6 separate regions of the Homo sapiens genome follow, and regions 1, 3, 4, 5 and 6 are each linked to region 2. The links are contacts of gene promoters, found by promoter capture Hi-C in blood cells and fetal thymus (Javierre and others, 2016). All regions are on one chromosome and are shown on one strand. The core of a region is centred on a gene start or on the middle of the fragment in contact, and the rest is flanking DNA. Distances in the headings are between cores, read along the strand shown. Region 1 overlaps SCIRT (stem cell inhibitory RNA transcript). Region 2 holds the start of RSPH9 (radial spoke head component 9). Region 3 overlaps SCIRT (stem cell inhibitory RNA transcript). Region 4 overlaps SCIRT (stem cell inhibitory RNA transcript). Region 5 has its middle 22 kb from the start of SCIRT. Region 6 has its middle 2.7 kb from the start of SCIRT.

What was found. The method cuts DNA at HindIII sites, captures the fragments that hold promoters and counts their contacts. A CHiCAGO score of 5 or more calls a contact.
Region 1: a fragment that was not itself captured here is called in contact with the fragment with the promoter of RSPH9 in region 2 in 1 of 17 cell types (erythroblasts); the score reaches 8.0 in erythroblasts.
Region 3: a fragment that was not itself captured here is called in contact with the fragment with the promoter of RSPH9 in region 2 in 9 of 17 cell types (erythroblasts, endothelial precursors, M1 macrophages and 6 more); the score reaches 9.8 in erythroblasts.
Region 4: a fragment that was not itself captured here is called in contact with the fragment with the promoter of RSPH9 in region 2 in 2 of 17 cell types (erythroblasts and monocytes); the score reaches 7.8 in erythroblasts.
Region 5: a contact is called between a fragment that was not itself captured here and the fragment with the promoter of RSPH9 in region 2, in 10 of 17 cell types (M0 macrophages, M2 macrophages, monocytes and 7 more). The highest score is 9.0, in M0 macrophages.
Region 6: a fragment that was not itself captured here is called in contact with the fragment with the promoter of RSPH9 in region 2 in 17 of 17 cell types (erythroblasts, neutrophils, M0 macrophages and 14 more); the score reaches 17.1 in erythroblasts.

What each region holds. Positions count from the first base shown.
Region 1 is chr6:44,010,940-44,013,639 of GRCh38, reverse strand. The region is part of intron 1 of SCIRT (stem cell inhibitory RNA transcript); the gene reads left to right. Among named protein-coding and RNA genes, the nearest start is that of LINC03040, 12 kb to the right of the region's middle. RefSeq lists an enhancer at 2,209-2,700. The HindIII fragment of the contact is 3,154 bases long and covers 1-2,700 here.
Region 2 is chr6:43,643,746-43,646,445 of GRCh38, reverse strand. RSPH9 (radial spoke head component 9) reads right to left here and starts at 1,410. Exons shown (of 5, transcript NM_152732.5): 1 at 1,121-1,410. The coding sequence starts at 1,347. RefSeq lists a silencer at 1,803-1,991. The HindIII fragment of the contact is 7,744 bases long and covers 1-2,251 here.
Region 3 is chr6:44,058,727-44,061,426 of GRCh38, reverse strand. The region is part of intron 1 of SCIRT (stem cell inhibitory RNA transcript); the gene reads left to right. Among named protein-coding and RNA genes, the nearest start is that of SCIRT, 15 kb to the left of the region's middle. RefSeq lists a silencer at 2,314-2,383 and an enhancer at 2,684-2,700. The HindIII fragment of the contact is 224 bases long and covers 1,308-1,531 here.
Region 4 is chr6:44,029,700-44,032,447 of GRCh38, reverse strand. The region is part of intron 1 of SCIRT (stem cell inhibitory RNA transcript); the gene reads left to right. Among named protein-coding and RNA genes, the nearest start is that of LINC03040, 30 kb to the right of the region's middle. The HindIII fragment of the contact is 6,000 bases long and covers 1-2,748 here.
Region 5 is chr6:44,095,339-44,098,134 of GRCh38, reverse strand. No RefSeq gene overlaps it. Among named protein-coding and RNA genes, the nearest start is that of SCIRT, 22 kb to the right of the region's middle. RefSeq lists silencers at 1,142-1,311, 1,089-1,383. The HindIII fragment of the contact is 6,139 bases long and covers 1-2,796 here.
Region 6 is chr6:44,075,944-44,078,791 of GRCh38, reverse strand. No RefSeq gene overlaps it. Among named protein-coding and RNA genes, the nearest start is that of SCIRT, 2.7 kb to the right of the region's middle. The HindIII fragment of the contact is 7,345 bases long and covers 1-2,848 here.

The DNA of each region.
Region 1 (2,700 bases), core at 190-2,689, 370 kb before region 2:
GGATCCTCATTATTAGAATACCTATGAGACAAATTTGCTGCTTAGTCTTGGGCCAGTACCTTATCCTCCCTGGCTCTTAGTTTCTACAACTGTACAAGAAGTACTTTGGACTAGAAGTGGTGTTTCTCCAAGGAGAATAGGGGTGCAATGCTTCACTATGCAAACTGCCTTGTCCATTGTGGGATCTAGCATGCCCGGCCTGGGGCACCCAATGCCAGAACATCTCTAATCACTATTACAATGAAAAAGACTCCAAAACATTTTCAAACACTCTAGAGACCATCTCCACTAGACTGGGTGATTCCTTAGGATCTTCCAGGTGAGATACTCTTGGAATCCTCTGGTTGGCGTGTAGGGACCACTGGTGGCCCAGAAACATGCAGAGGGCTGGACAGCGGGCCAATGGTGGGGAATAAGCTGGAACCAAGCTGGAGATGATGCCCAGGCCATATCCTGGCTCCTGAGGGCAGAACTAGTGTTCAGATTCCCAGCCTTCAAAGGGGCATGAACTCTCAAATGGCTCAGGCCTTCTTTTTTTTGAGATGGAGTCTCGCTGTGTCGCCCAGGCTGGAGTACAGTGGCGTGATCTCGGCTCACTGCAACCTCCACCTCCTGGGTTCAAGCAATTCTCCCGCCTCAGCCACCCGAGTAGCTGGGACTACAGGCGCCACCAATACACCTGGCTAATTTTTGTATTTTTTTGGTAGAGACGGGGTTTCGCCATGTTGGCCAGGCTGGTCTTGAACTCCTGACCTCAGGTGATCCACCCGCCTTGGCCTCCAAAATGCTGGGATTACAGGAGTGAGCCACCGCTCCCAGCCCTTTAGGCCTTCTCGTCTGGGGAGCTCCAGTCTGTCCTGAAGAACAGAATGCAGCGAGTAGGTGATGCCCCTGGGGAGGAATGGCTCACTCGTAGCAGGACTCTACAGGTGGGGCTGGCTGGGGCTAAGAGGGGGTCATGGGCTATTAGTGGAGCTGGAATAGCAAGCAAGAAGAGTCAGTTGTCCTATGCAGGCAATCATAGGAAGTTGGGTGGGGTGGGTAGGGGGACAGTTGTGACTTGGGCAGATGGAGAGGGCTCAAGACTGACCACTAGGCATGCCAGCAGTGGTTATGGACAGCAGAACGGTTGTGTTGCCCTCCTGCAGGGGAGAATGCAAACACACCTGGTTGTCCAGACTGGGTGGTGGAGAAGTAAGGGCAGAGAAAGTTCTCGTGTAAATGAGCATGATGAAGGGCAGCAAAGAGTGATGAGGCAACTGCAGAGCCGCCTCTCCTCAGAGGTGGTTTGTGGTGGGGCTCTGGGGGAAACCAGAGTGTTGCCCAATGTTAAGAGCTCAGAGTGAGTTTTCAGGAAGTTCTGGGAATCGTTGCAGTTGTTGATTCACTGAGTCATCCATTCAACAAGGATCTCCAGGGTTGGAATGAGAACACCCCAATCTTGTACATGTTCTGGGACCATAACTCATCTGGTGTGAGGTATCAGAGATTTGGTGACTGGGAAAAGAGGAACTTGGAAGGGGAAGAATTTGTCAGTGTTTATCCAACTGGGCCCAGTGGGGAGGCAGCTCTGAATCGAGAGAACTGGCCTCAAGCAGATGATGGGGGTCGTGACAAAGAAAGAGGGAGGAGGAAGGCTAGAAAGGATTATTTCAGGTACTGTCCCACCTGATCTAATGCCTGCAACCACCCAGTGAGCCCAAGGCTATGATTTCCCCTATTTTTCAGATTAACAAACAGAGGCCCAGTTCTTGAGTTCAGAAGGGCACTTCTTCAGGCTCACCGAGCTTGAATAGCCCTGAGAATCTCCAAACTGCCTTTGCCTCGATGTCTGCAATCTGTGGGTCTCAGATGGTGACTGCCAAAGTGGAAGGCAGTTTCTGTGTCTACTGTGGATCTTTCTGACAGCAACACCTGTCCCCACAGTAGCACCACCAGTTTTCCAGAAGTCTGGTTATATGGCTGGTGTCCCAGAATCTGCTCACCCATGGACAAACACATAAAACTGAATTTTTAAACTTTCCACACCAGAGACCAAGTCTTGGTGACTACACAATGTCAGCTAATGTGTTTTGAGTGTGTGCTATGTGCTTGGCACTGCTTTTAGCAGTTCAGATATATGAACTCATTCATTCCTCACACCAACCTGGGAGGGACATGCCTCTGTTATCCTCATTTTACAGGTGGAGAAACAGAAGCCTGGAGATGCTGAGTAACTTGCCCATAGTCTCACAGCTGACAAGTGGCCAAGAAGGATTCAAACACATGTGTGCTGGCTCCAGTGGCTCCAGAAGTCTGGTGAGGGGCTACCTGAAGCACATTGCCCCCTAGAGTTAAGGACAGCTGGATCTGGGCTCCGGAAGCCTGCAGTTCATTTCTGGCTGCACAACCAATTAGCTGTGTGACCTGAAGCGCATCTCTCACTCCCTCTCTGAATCCCCATTTTCTCCCTGGTTGAATGAAAGGATTCAACTGGATGGTCCCTAGCTTGGTTGGTTGCAGCTCTGACATTTCAAGAGGCTTCATCAGGCTAAAATAAGCACAAGAGCCACGCTGCGGTTGGGAAAGGGCAGCCTGGGACGTGCGTGCGTGGAAGCTGGGAGGCTCTCCATGGTGAGGAGGTGTAGAGGGCTAATTGCTAGTGCATGAGCTCAGCTGGAGGCCACTTTCTCCACTCTGTGCCCACAGCTGGCTGTGAGT
Region 2 (2,700 bases), core at 161-2,660:
AATAATAAATAAATAAATAATTGCCAAGCGCGGTGGGTGATCCCAGCACTTTGGGAGGCTGAGGCGGACGGATCACGAGGTCAGGAGATCGAGACCATCCTAGCTAACACGGTGAAACCCCGTCTCTACTAAAAATACAAAAAAAAATTAACCGGGCATGGTGGCGGGCGCCTGTAGTCCCAGCCACTCGGGAGGCTGAGGGAGGAGAATGGCGTGAACCCAGGAGGCGGAGCTTGCAGTGAGCCGAGATCGAGCCACTGCACTCCAGCCTGGGCGACAGAGCGAGACTCCGTCTAAAATAATAATAATAATAATAATAAATAAATAGCCAGGTGTGGTGGCACGTGCCTGTAATCCCAGCTATTTGGGAGGCTGAGGCAGGAAAATCGCTTGAATCCGGGAGGCGGAGGTTGCAGTGAACCAAGATAGCGACACTGCACTCCAGCCTGGGTGACAGAGCAAGACTCTGCCTCAAAACAAAAATAAATAAATAAATAGCTGGATGGTCCTGTATGGTAGTGACCAGGGAATTTTCCCCAGCTCTCTCCCCATTCCGCATTCGTTCTCTATTTCCAAAAGCGCCTCCAGCTCCAGAGCAGATACCTCTATCAAAGAGCACCACCCTCTCCCTCTGGCGTCTGACTCTTCTCCAAACTGAGCCTTCTCCAAACTGAGCCAGGCCCAGCACTTGGCTGGAACCTGGCTTCTTCTCCAGGTCCGCATTTTCCAGAAACCTTCCCACTGCTTCACCTGCGTTCTTGGCCCTGTCTCTCTTATAAACCCATCCGCATGTAAGTTTCTCTTGGCCTCCTCAGGCGGAGAACAAGCTCTCGCAAGGCCCCGCCCTCCGGGGGACATCGCCCGTCCATTGCCCCGCCCTCTCAGGCTCCGCCCTAGCCTCAGATTCCGAGACATCCCCATCCCCGCCCTTTCCCTCAACCACCTCTTGACCGTCCCCAGGCCCGCCCCCCAGGGTCTCCCCCATTCCACTCATCTCAGATCCCGCCCACACCTCCCTTGGCCCCATGGGCCCCGCCCCTTTCAATTGCTGCGACCCGCCCACCCCGCCCTGCCTCCAGGTAGCCACCCTCTGGGGAGCCCGTCCCGGGGGCCTCCTCACCTATAGAGCGTCTTGCGCGGTGCGAGCTGGTCCTCACTCAGGCCCTGCGCGATGTAGTAATCGGCGACGAGGCCAAGGATGCGGCCCCAGAAGAGAACCCGATCATAGCGGTAGTCGCGCTTAACCAGCATAAGAGACGTGAGCAGCGAGGCCCGACGGTCCGGGCTGAGGCCCTGCCCACTGCCGGACGCCAGCTCCAGAGACAGCAGGAGGCTGTCGGCGTCCATCAGGTCAGCGGCTCCGCTCAACGCCCGTCGAGTTGCTAGGAGAAGCCGCCTCCATGGAGACCTGAAGCTCCGCCCTTCCGCCTAGCTGGACGCTAGGTTCCACCCACCCCACCGCCTACCGCCCAGACCTCCTCCCCACGGAGGCCTAGGCATCAGCCCCCTCCCTCATCCTTTCCAGAGTTTGGGACGGGATGTCTTCAGTTGCCACGGCCACAGTATGGCTTCCCCTACAGTTAGGCTACAGTTGGGGTTGTAAGTCCAAACCCAGCCTTTTTCCATAGATATTTGGCCTTCCCTGAGCCCTTTCACATAGTCGACATTTAGAGTCTTTACTGTATATGGACCTGGGGTCTGGAAAGAAAACAATACAAAACCCCAACACTGACACTAACTGTACTATTTCACCCCAGTCATGTCACTTCTTGACCTCAGAATGATCTGTGAAGAATTTGAGATTCCTCCTGGCTCTAATTAAGATTCTGTCAACCCGACTACCTCCACCCGCACCCCACCCCAAGCCAGGTCTTACAGAATGAGGTCCATCCATTCTCTTCCATCTTCACCAGCTGTCTTCTTTATCTACCCTTTCCATAGAAATATTCTAAGTGACAAATGAAAATCTAGGCAATGGGGGCAAGGTATAGGGTAACACCTTGGGAAAGGAGGGTGAGGAGAGAGATACAAAAAGGGGGACTTTTATAGACTACACTTTCTCATCAACTACCACCTTTCTCATCAACTACCAACTACCACCAACTGTTGTTTTTAGATCCAAATGGTAGCAAGAGATGAAAGGCCAGAACCTCACTGCAACTGGAGCTTCACTCCCTGGGCTAGATCACTTCTCCACATTCACTTCTTGAGTCCCCAGCCAAGGACAAACAAACAGGTTCCTCAGCAAGCTTGTTGCCACAGGAGATGGGCTTTATCGTTAATGTTGCTAGTTGATATTTTCATTTCTGGATTCCTTTGAAGAGCACTCAGGAAATCAGAATGACCTGGGCCCCAGCTGATAAATAAGTGTGTAAATAACCCAGATAATTACTTTTTTGATTGTCTGGGCATTGTTGGTTTTCGGGGGTTGAGACAGGGTCTCACTTTGTCACCCAGGCTGGAGTGTAGTGGTGTGTGATCTCAGCTCACTGCAGCCTCAACCTCCTGGGCTCAAGTGATCTTCCCACCTCAGCCCCCCAGGTAGCTGGGACTACAGGTGTGTGCCACCACACCCAATATTTTTTGTATTTTTAGTAGAGACGGGGTTTTGCCATGTTGGCCAGGCTGGTGTTGAACTCCGAGCTCAAGTGATCCACTCACCTGAGCCTCCCAAAGTGCTGGGATTACAGGTGTGAACCA
Region 3 (2,700 bases), core at 170-2,669, 410 kb before region 2:
CTGCTCATTGTTAACAGTGGTCACACTCGTAATTTTTTGAGGGTACAAATCTGCCAACACACTCATCATTTAACCCCCAACTTTCTCTGGGGAACTTCAGGAAAAGCATCCCTGGGCATTAACTCATCTAACTGCTTATCATGGCGTTGATGTCACCCCTGAGCCTGCTCTTGCCCAGGCAGAACAAGCCCGATTTTTTCCCCCTTTCCGTCGGGCCTGTGTTTGCCCTCTCCATGGCATCTGCGGCCCTGTCTGGCCTCTTGCCAGCTTCTTGTGACCAAATGTGGACCTGGCCTGGCCAAGGAGGAGAGCTTGGGGGTCAGGGCCTGACCTGACAGCTGTCCCTCCAGGGGTCCCAGGCAGTGGTACCAAAATTTAAGCCTTGGCTGCCCCCACCCTGCCAGGTCTCCCTACTACCCCCATTCCATCTTATGCCGTCAGGATCCTGATGTGTGTTTATGGTGTGGTGCTCCCAAGGCATTACCTGGTCCTTTAGGTCCCCAAAGCGCTGGAGATATTATTCTGGAGTGAGGAGTCCAGGTTTCTTTCCCTAACTCATGCCACAGACCAATCAAGTGGCAGCTTCTTGTTCCTCACACCCCAGGGCAGGATTTCAACAGCAGCAATAATAGCACTGACTGCTTACTGAGCACTTGCCTTGTGCCAGACACTGTGATGAGCACATTACAGTAGCCCTTTCGCTGAATACTCACAACAGCCAGGTGAGGTGGGGTCCACGGGTATCCTTACTTTATAGGAATCCCAGGCACAGAGAAGGGTTTTGTCTGGGCTGACAACGGATTTAATGCTACACTGATTCTCTGTTTAGTTTTGGTTTGGTTTTTGAATCACTTCACGCTGGCCCTGAGTGAGGCGATAAGGCCCATTCCCAAAGCACAGGTGGGAAAACTGAGAGTCCGACTTGGGCAGTGAGTCAGGTAGGCCATCCTGTTCTGCTATCCCCACACCCCTAGCCTGGCTCTCTGTCATCTGAAGTGTTTTCCCAGGGTATTTCCTCCTTCTAGGTATTTCTCCTCATCTCATGCATTTACCTGGGCTCTTCCCTCCTTTCCATCCATCTATCTATCCATCCATCCATCCATCCATCCATCCATCCATCCATCCATCCATCCTCCTGGAGCCAAGTCCTCCCAACAGGGTTCCTCCTGACCTCACAGGGCAAGTAGGAGGAAGTGCTCCTGGATGGGGACATCACACCCCTGGTAACTCTTCTCTTCTAGACACCTCATCCATCCTACTCTGCCCAGCCACACATGAGTCGAGATTATTTCACCAGAGGAGAAGCTTGTATCAGTTAAATTTTGGTTTACACAAGATAAATAGTGAATTTTTTGCTCATGTAAAATATTTCTGGGATGTGGTCAGAGACTCCTTCTATCTTTCTGACCTGCTAGGTGTGGTTTCCATTTCCAGGGTCACCTCATTGCCCAAGATGGCTGCTGGAGCCCCAGCCAGCAGGAAGGAAGAAGAAAGCCTGAAGAAGGACATGCCCCTTCCCTTCAAGGAAGCTTCCTAGAAGTCACACTTATATTCCATTGGCCAGAACTCAGTCATCTAGCCATACCTAGCTGCAAGGGAAGCTAGGTAGTCTAGTCTTTATTCCATGGGGGTCTGGCTAAAAGTTGGGAAATAAACGAGGAATGGATATTAGGAGACAGGATCTGCCACAAAGCCTCTTTGTTCCTTTTAGATTGCAACTGCCAGAGGGTAAGTGGGGCCTTCCCAACGCCCTGCCTCAAGCAATCCTGGTTCTCTCCCTTCTCTGAGGTCTCAGTTCTTCCCTGATACTCAGTAGTTACTGCCTGGAGCTGCTAAAGGCAGCAGCACAATGCCACATCCGGCTGCCGTTGGCTGTTGTCCACCGTCTGCAGATCCAGGCCAGTGCACTCACTTATCTCACAACAGCTCAACAGGCAGCTAGTCTTAGTCCCATTTTATAGTTGAGAAATTGAGGCCTAAAGAGGTTAAGTAACTTGCCCAAGAGCACGCAGCTGGGCTCTGAGCCCAGTTCCTGTGTGTTTCTTTCTTTCCTGTTGAGCCTTCCCTGTAGGGGTGGATGCCCTGGGCCTTCTCAGGGTCTGACAAGAGGAACTGGAATGGTCTGAGCCCTAGGAGGGGCCTGTCTGGGAGGAGAGGGCAGGCAGGGGCGTGACCTGGGTCCTCAGGTGTCTCCTCAGCACTTACTCAGTGCCATGGTCAGCGAACGCGTCTGAACAGAGTCTACTGACGGGCTTGGGGATTTCTGCTGGCGCCAGCAACTGGCCACTGCAGCCACATCCTCAGACGCCACTTTCCCCAGAATAAGTGTCCTAGACCCAGCAGTGAGGAAGGACAGGGATAGGGCAGCTTTTGTCACTTCCCTTTCTTTCCTCCAGCCCTCCCCAGGGAGGCGGGGGAGAGGGGGACTGTTTACTCTGCTTTCACCCGGGGGAGGCAGCAGCAGGGGACTCAGCACCTACCCCAGGTGGGCTGCTTGGAGGGGAAGGTGGGGAGAATGTGACCAGCGCTGAGGGGAAGAGGCCAGACGCTGGGCTTCTCTGGAAGACCAGGGCCATGTGGGCCATCCCCCTGCCTCCGGGCAGGACTGTCCGTGCTTGCTGCCGAACATGAGTGTGAGGTCATTGCTCTGGTCTCAGGGGTGGGGGGAGGTGCTCTGAGCGTAAGTACGGTCACCGCCTC
Region 4 (2,748 bases), core at 149-2,648, 390 kb before region 2:
TTAGGAGTGATGTAGCGAATCCAGATTTATTTATTTTTGATCCAAATATCTGACTAGTATCTCAATTTATTGAATTGAATTCTCATGTTTATTTGGGCCTATTTAAAATTGTTTTATTCTTTCCAATTGATCTGTATGCAGGCACCAGTCCCACACTATTTTAATTATTGTAGCTGTATACTATTTTTGAAAAATGTTTTATAGTGCTACTCTTTCCTTGTTAGTTTACTTATTTTTCCTTCCAGGAATGTTCTATTCATTTATATTTATTTTTCCAGAGGAATTTGTATGTAATCATTTTGTCAAATTATCCCCCAAAAGCAGCTGATATTTTGTACAGAAGTATGCTGAATTTATAGTTTAATTATGGTGACACTGACATGCTTACAATATTACTGACTTTTTATCCAAGGAAAAGGTCTTTCTCCATCGATTCAAGTCTATGTGTATGTCCCTCATTTAGCTTTTACAGCTATTTCCATGTATCTGCACATTTTTTCTATGTGTTTTATGTTAGGTTTTTGTTAACCTTATTAATGGGATGTTTTTCCATATTCTTTTATTAGTTATTTCTTGTATTTAGGAAATCTTGTTTTTAAACTAGCCACTTTGATAAATTCCTGATATTACTAAAAGTTCTTTAGCTGATTCTCTTGGAATATCCAAGTATAGAGTAATATCATCCAATGATAATAACTGCTTTCTTTTTACAATATTTATACCTCTTATTTTATTTTTCATCTAACTGCATTGTCAAGTAATTGCAGAACAATATTAAATACTAATGGTGATAGTTTATGGGGAGAGCTGACGTCAACTTTAACGGGACTGCTTTTAGAGTCTCCCCATTAAACATGTTGGGAAAATTAATCTATTTTACATGCTAATATAGTAGGTTATGTTGAGTTTCCCAGAATTTGGCTTTCTTGTACTTCTGGAAAGAATCATACTTAGTCTTGACACATTCTTTTGTCAACACAACTTTCATCAATACTCCCTTCCTTAGCTCAGAACTTCCTCCGTCGTTCATCTTCCTCCCTTGGAAGCAGAGGCACAAAATCAGGGCTGGAGGTGTGAGGCGGGGGCATGGCCAGGGAAGAGCTGAGGCTCAGGACATAGCTGTTGGCCTCCTGTCCCGAAGGAATGAGGATCCACAAGAGCCTCCTTAAGGCTGACAGAGTATGTGGAGACGAGCAGGGGGTTGAGAAGCCCTGGGGGCTGGAGAGGACTGAACAGCAGGGGGCAGGGGTCCTTGGAAGAAAACCAGGACTCTTCTGCTTGCCCCCTGAGGAAGCCCTGCACCTCTGTCACCCTCAGGACTATCTTGAGCCCCAGTCTTTTGAGGGAGGCATGATCCAGAACTTTGGGCCTCTCCCAGGCTAGTGGACTCAATGCAGGCACAGGTGGCTACTCTTACACTAGGACAGGGAGGCTAAAGGAGAGCCCTGAAGGTGGCAGGAGGTCAGGAAGATGTCAGCCTGGCATGGCTATTTCTTAACATTTGCAGCATGCAGCCTTCATGCAGCAGCTTCTGAAAGCAGTGACCACGTCCTCCCCCCTATCTCCTCCAGCATCCCTAGGACTGTTCTTTGGTCCTAAACATATGAAGTCACCGCACCCTCCCTCCATTTCTTGAAGCAGTTTCGAAGTCCTCTGGCCATGACCCTTTCTTAGGAACCTGGCTGACTTCAGCATCACTCTTGGGTGAACATTGCTGTGCCCAGGGCTTGTTGGAGAGAGGAGAGGGTTAGAGGGAGGGAGGGAGGGGATTTTCCAGTGTCCCCTCTGTCCCCTCTGGGCAGGGATTGAAGTGGCAGAGGGTGTGGGCGATGTGCTGAGGCCAGGTAACCAGGAGACAAGAGAGCCCTTTAGATGTCCTCCCTGAGCTGCCCTTCCTTTCCTTACAACTGTCAGCTCTAGGAGCACAGAAGAGGAAATTCCTTGACCTAGAACCTTAGCATCTTCCAGGCCTACAAACCTTTAATTAATGCAGTCATTTAAGAGGAAGGAAGGTGGTTTTGTAACTGTGTTGTATACCTGAGTGAGTATAGACACATTCTCCGCTCTTTCATCAGGAGAGAAAATAGAGCATATAGACAGGTGTGGGGGTAAACTGAGTTTTAGGCAAAGTGAGAAGAGCATGGTCAGCCATTGACAGGAGGCCAGCAAGAGTGAGTGGTGGACACCCTGCTCTGGAGGCAGGGGACTGAACGACGTCTGGATGCTGACGAAGCTGTGAGCATTAAAGGGTTCTTGAATCTTTTCCTGCTACTTTTGGTGCATCCCAGTAGGGACAACTGAAGCCAACCCTATTTCCCAGCCATGGGAGACTGGGAATATAGTGGGAAGACTGGTCAGCAGGAAGGGTCTCCTGCCATCAGACTGGGGCTAAGGACAGAAGTACAGCTTCTGACAAGAAAGGCAAGAGCAAGGCGGGTCCCAGCCTTGGGGGATCCAGGACCCTGGGCAGGCACTAAAGGCAGGGACTTGGATAGAAAGAGGCAAGATGGGCCCTGGAGGTTGGATGTGCACACACAATGAGGGCTAGGCCTTCAGAATGAGGTGGGGTGCATGGCAGAATGAGGAGCCCTTTGGGCATTTGAGGCACAACCCAGGAGGGCTTTCCCTGGAGCCATCTTGCAAAATCATGGTGGATTCTTGACTTGTGTGGCTTCCTGTGGAAAAGTAGGTGCCACTGGTGGATCCTGTTAAGTGCCCTGGCATGAGTCTTACTCATTTCCAGTCTTC
Region 5 (2,796 bases), core at 27-2,526, 450 kb before region 2:
CTTGGCACATAGTAGGTGCTCAGCGTATCAATCATAGCCATTATTGTTATTTCAAATTTCAGCCAAAAATAATCACTTGAGCTCTTAGTAGGTGACAGTTGGATTAAGGACATTGGGACTGTATCTGGTTCAATCAGGGATGACTTCCTGGGGGAGGAGGGGCTTGAGCTACTTAAATATATGTGGGAAGTGGGGCAGCATTGAGTTAGAGAGAGGGCTGTGTGCAGAGGCCAGGGAGGGATTATGCCTGTGTGCCTATTATTAGTAATGATATTACTTATTTCCATATTATAGACAAAGAGGGAGAGTCCAAGTAACTTGTCCACAGACACATAGCTAGTAAGTGTAGGGTGTTCACATGGAAGGGATGGGCAGAGGAAGAGAAATGGGAAAATGCAGGAAACTGGGATAGTTCTGTGGGAGGAGAAGGGAGAAAAAGAATGGGCTTTGTAATCAGAAAGGCTCCTGAAGAGAGGGATGTGGGGGATTTAACAGGCCAGCCATTGCCCTTTACTTAAAAAAAAAAATGCCCAGGGGAGATGTAGGACCTTAAGGTCTTACCTTTGCAAGACGCTCTTGACAGAGGCCACTGGCTCTCCATCTCCCTTGGGCCCAAGCAGAAAGGATTGGGGCCCCTCCCCACAGGAAGGGGTGCTAGGCTGACTAGTCCTAGGAGGCTGGGCGTCTTTTCCCCAGGAACCCTCCAAGAACTGGGTGGGTTGAGAGCTGGCTGGCAGTACTGTGCCAAATGAAGTCGCTGCATGCCCTGTAACCTGGCAATTCCGCTTCTTAGGTTTTCAGGCCGAGCCGTAACGGTTCCTGTCAAGGACGGTCATGGCAGGGTTGCTGGGGTGTTGGAGGGAACTTGGGTGCCTGTCGCCCTCAGAGTGGGTAAATAAATGTGGAAGGTGCCCACCAGAAACTAAATGTGCTCACAGCAACATGAATGAGGTTTAAAAATACAGTGCTGAGCGAAAACAATTAAGAAATATATCTATAATGTGTGTGTGTGTTTTTTATATATATATATATATATATATATATATATATTACTAATTGTGAAACTAAAAAATACATGCACTTGTTTTGCAAGGACACATACAAATGGTTGGCTATGGGTTAGGATGAGGAATGAGAATAAAAATGAGATAAATGCAGAGTGTGGTGAAATCCAGTTCCTCTGCAGGTGGAAAGGGTGGCCAAGCGGTCAACCCACATTTCTGTGCACATTGTGCCATCTAGTGGGCAAAGGGGCGTTCAGCTGCCCTGGTCCTGGAGCTGGTGCAACTATGGCACCATGACATCCTGGGCAGGTGCTGCCTCAGCTGGGCCCCCAGAGCAGAGGTGAGAGGTGAGTGCTGCCTGTCAAGTGGGGGCCAGGCACAGCCTGCTGTAGGCCTGGCCAGTGGGGCTGGTAGCCATTTCTGTTGCAGCAGGGAGGAGGGTTCAGACAGGCCTGCCTGCCTCCAGGAGCTGTCTGATGTCAGGGCTGGCTCTTCACCGCCTGCTATGGCAGGCAGGCAGGTGGTTCCTGAGAAGGGAGTGGCTGAGACTCTGATGCCAGATTTTCACATGTAGCCCTCCCTTCTGGCAGGAAAGAGAGCATCTGGCAGGATCATTGTGAAAGCAAAGAGGAGAGAGGAGAGCAGGTAGAGACACTCAGAGTCTAGAGAGAGCAATGACTACCTTGAGGTGGAGTACGGAGGACAGACCCTGGCACCAGACTGCCAGGGTTCACATCCCTTGGGCAAGTCCCCTGTGCATCAGTTTCCCCTCCTTGGAATGTAATAGTACGTACCTTGTAGGGTTGAAGTGAGTCAAAATAAGGCACTTAAAACAGGTCCCCTTTCCGGGTCAGGGCTGTGTAAGTGTTGTCCACTCTCAGTATCTGAGGTTCACCCAACTCCTGTAAAGCCAGCACCCTGCTCTCATCCTTCATGAGAGTCATGGGGCATGAACAGAATGCCCTGGGCTGATGGGGGTCACTGCAGCAGGGCCTGGGGCTATAGGCTAGGAAGGGACTCCAGCCATGGACCCAGGCCAAACTGTGGAGGGAGGTGGGGTGAAGCAGGGCGGGGCCTGGGGCTGGGGACACTGCATTCTTTTTTTGTTTTTTGAGACGGAGTTTCGCTCTCGTCACCCAGATTGGAGTGCAATGGCGCCATCTCGGGTTCAAGCGATTCTCCTGCCTCAGCCTCCCAAGTAGCTGGGATTACGGGCTCCTCCCACCACGCCCAGCTAATTTTTTGTATTTTTAGTAGAGACAGGGTTTCACCATGCTGGCCAGGCTGGTCTCGAACTCCTGACCTCAGGTGATCCGCCAACCTTGGCCTCCCAAAGTACTGGGATTTTACAGGCATGAGCCACCACGCCCAGCTGGACACCCCATTCTTGGGGTCTGTAAAAATACTTTCTTGGCCGGGTGTGGTAGCTCATTCCTGTAATCCTAGCACTTTGGGAGGCTAAGGAGGGTGGGTCACCTGAGATCAGGAGTTCGAGACCAGCTGGCCAACATGGTGAAAACCTGTCTCTACTAAAAATACAAAAATTAGCTGGGTGTGGTGGCACACGCCTGTAGTTTCAGCTACTCAGGAGGCTGAGGCAGGAAAATCGCTTGAACTCGGGAGGCAGAGGTTGCAGTGAGCCAAGATCGCACCATTGCACTCCAGCCTGGGCAACAAGAGTGAAACTCCTTCTCAGTCTTGGTTACCTCTGGGGCTTGACGGGCCCTGTCCTGCCCCACCTCTCTCTACAGCCTCTGGCCATTTATTTTAGCTGCCCCTCCCCACACACCAG
Region 6 (2,848 bases), core at 1-2,500, 430 kb before region 2:
GATACAAAGCTGGCAACAGACTTTCTGCCACGTAGAGGGATATGGCAGGTGACAACCCTGTCTGGCTCTGCTAATCAGGATCCAGTAAGAAGCTCAAGACAGGTGGCCACTCTGCTGGTAGGCAGAGGAGGGAGCTGTGCTCCCTGGGGTGGGTAGAAGTAAGGTTTGTGTGGGTGCTGGGTGTTGGACACGGGCAGGCTGCAGACATAGCAGCAATGAGGGGAGACTCTCTCAACCTGCCCATGTCCTCCTCTGAGCAATCTCCCCGCCCCAGAATTATTTCAGTTTCCTCATCTGTCAGTTCTAGGGGTGGACTTCATTCATTCAATACTGTGTCCCTGACCTCTGCTCCCTGCCAGGCTCTGAACTAGTCATGTGTCAGGCTGGATACTTAGATGGACAAGACAAGCCATCCCCTGCCCACAGCTGCCCCACCTGAAGTCTAGGCCAGTGACCTCCGAAGTTTTTTTGATCATGTGCCCTTAGCAATAAAAAAGATTGTTGAGTACGCACCCGTCAGATGAGTATGTTTTTATATAGTTTACCTTGTAAAACACACTCACACTAAATGAAAAAAGGATTCGATGAAAAATAAATAGGCATTCTAAAACTTTCTTCCAGTACCCCTGAACCACGCACACATATGGCACTTGGAACCCAACTGCTCCAGGAGCTGGGAGGGTAGGGTCAGTCCAGCCATACTCAGGACGGATGTGTGGTCAGTGTTCCAGAACATCCTTGCCCACCCCTTTATGCCCTAGCAAAGGAAGGGAGAAACTTCAGATACAGCAGGTGGGAGTGTGGGCAGATGGGAAGCGTAAGCAGGTTTATGTCTGAGGAGGCAGACAAGAGGCAGGTTTTTATTTTAGACTGTGATGTTGAAAATTTTGTGATCACTTTTTACACTGTCCCAGGACATACAGAACCAAGACATAGTGTCCCAAGTAGTATCTAATTTCATATACTTTAGGTAGTTCTATTCCATTTCCAAAGGTTTAGAATACCGCCCCACCTCAACCCCCAGGAAACTGGGGAGCACTCCCTCCACTACACACACTTGGGACACGAAGGACAGACCCTGGTTGGGGAGGCACTTAGGTGTCCCTTCCTTAGGGGCTTTATCTCTCACTTCCCCTCCTGGGTTGGAGGCTCCTGTGACCCCCTCGCCTGGGCAGGTCCCCATGCAGGGTAGAGCACTTGGAGGCCTCTGTAAACATGGGTTACAGGAGAGAGGGGGCAAGAGGCCACAGCTGGGGTACATAAGGAAACCCCTCTGTGGGCCCCCTTACTCAGAGAAGTCTCAGGAGAAACCCTTTCCCCCACCCCCAGTCCTGGCACCAAGCTGGAGAAAGACAAAATGGCTTGTGAAGGCATCTGTCTGCCCTCCAGGGTGGCTGCCAGGGGGGCAGCCATGATGGCTGGCCTGGTGTGGGTGCCTTTGTGTGCCATGACTGGGTGTCTGTTTCTGCAGTCACTAGGCGCTTGTTCTGTGGGGTGAGGGGTGTGGGGGTGGGGGCACGGCCTATGGCAGGGCACGTACGTGAGGCTGGGCACGAAAAGCCTCACCCACCTCCTGCCAGGTACAACCAGCTGCTGGGGCCAACTGCCGACCGCCTCCTCCCTTCCCTGGGCACGGCCAGGCCGGGGGGCAAATGACTTGGCAGGCACCTCCCCTCAGTTGGACCCACTAGGGCAGGGCCGGCTCACCTGGGGCACAGGCAGGGCTCCTGGCTGGGTGGGTGTTCTGCCAATCCCTTCCCCAACTCCTAAAGTGGGAGGGTGGTGGTGAGGCCAGGGAAGGGGCGCAGGTCAGAGATATGCCCCCTCTCCTCTCCCAGACTGTGCATGGGTAAAGCAGGGCAGAGAGGGGCTGGTGGAGGGGCGGGAAGTTTCTCTGTTTAGGGCCAGGAAATGATTTCCATGCAAATGAGATGCAAACTCCTTAATGAGTTTGCAATTAGGAGACCAAGGCTGCCAGGCCGGGCAGCGCCTGCAGGTTTTATGAATGGGCCAGCGTAGGCGGGGGGGAGGGGGCGCGCCGGCCCGCCCCCACATTTCCCTGCCGCGGCGCCCGCGACATGCCGCGCCGCACGTTGCTGCCTCCAGGCCCCGCCGCGACCTGGCCCACCGCCAGCGGGTCAGCTGCTCCGGACGGCGCGGGAGGCTGCCGGCCAGAGTCCCCGCCACGCCGCCGGCCGGCGACGCAAAGGAGCCGACGACACTCCCCCTGGGGCCCGGCAGGGGCTCTGTCCTCGGGCCCCCTTTTTTCCCGGTTATTGGAATGATTTCCCGAAGCAGGAAGGCCAGAAGTTAGCCTTCAGGCCCCGTTGTATTTAAAATGGGCTGCCCTGGGACTTCACTGACCAAAGGAGGGGGCTGGGCCCCTAACTTGGGTGACAGCAATGACCTTGGGAGGGATGGAATTATACGTGACAGGAGAGGGACCAGTTCCCATCCCAGAGCTCCTTGCACCTCTCCAATTCCCTCATGCCAGTCCACACCTCCCTAACCTCAAAAGGCCTGTTCCCACCACCCCAGGGCACCTGCTTTTTCTGCAGAGCCACCCTAGTCCACTTTGGGTCTTGCTCTGACCTGGGGCCCAGGAGAGGGTCTCCTAAGTGGGTGGGTACACACAGGTTTGCTGTGGTCCAGAAGGAGGCTGACCAGAGTTTGAGAGTTTGAGCCCAGTTAGGTCACAGCCCCCTACCTCCTCCCCTCCCCTCTCCTCCCCCTGTCCCCGCCCTGCCCCATTGCTTTCAGAGTAAATTAACTAATTACCTCCAATTAAAGCACCTGGCTCTCTGTATCCTCCTAGGCCTTCAATCACTGCTTCTGGGAGTCCTCTTCA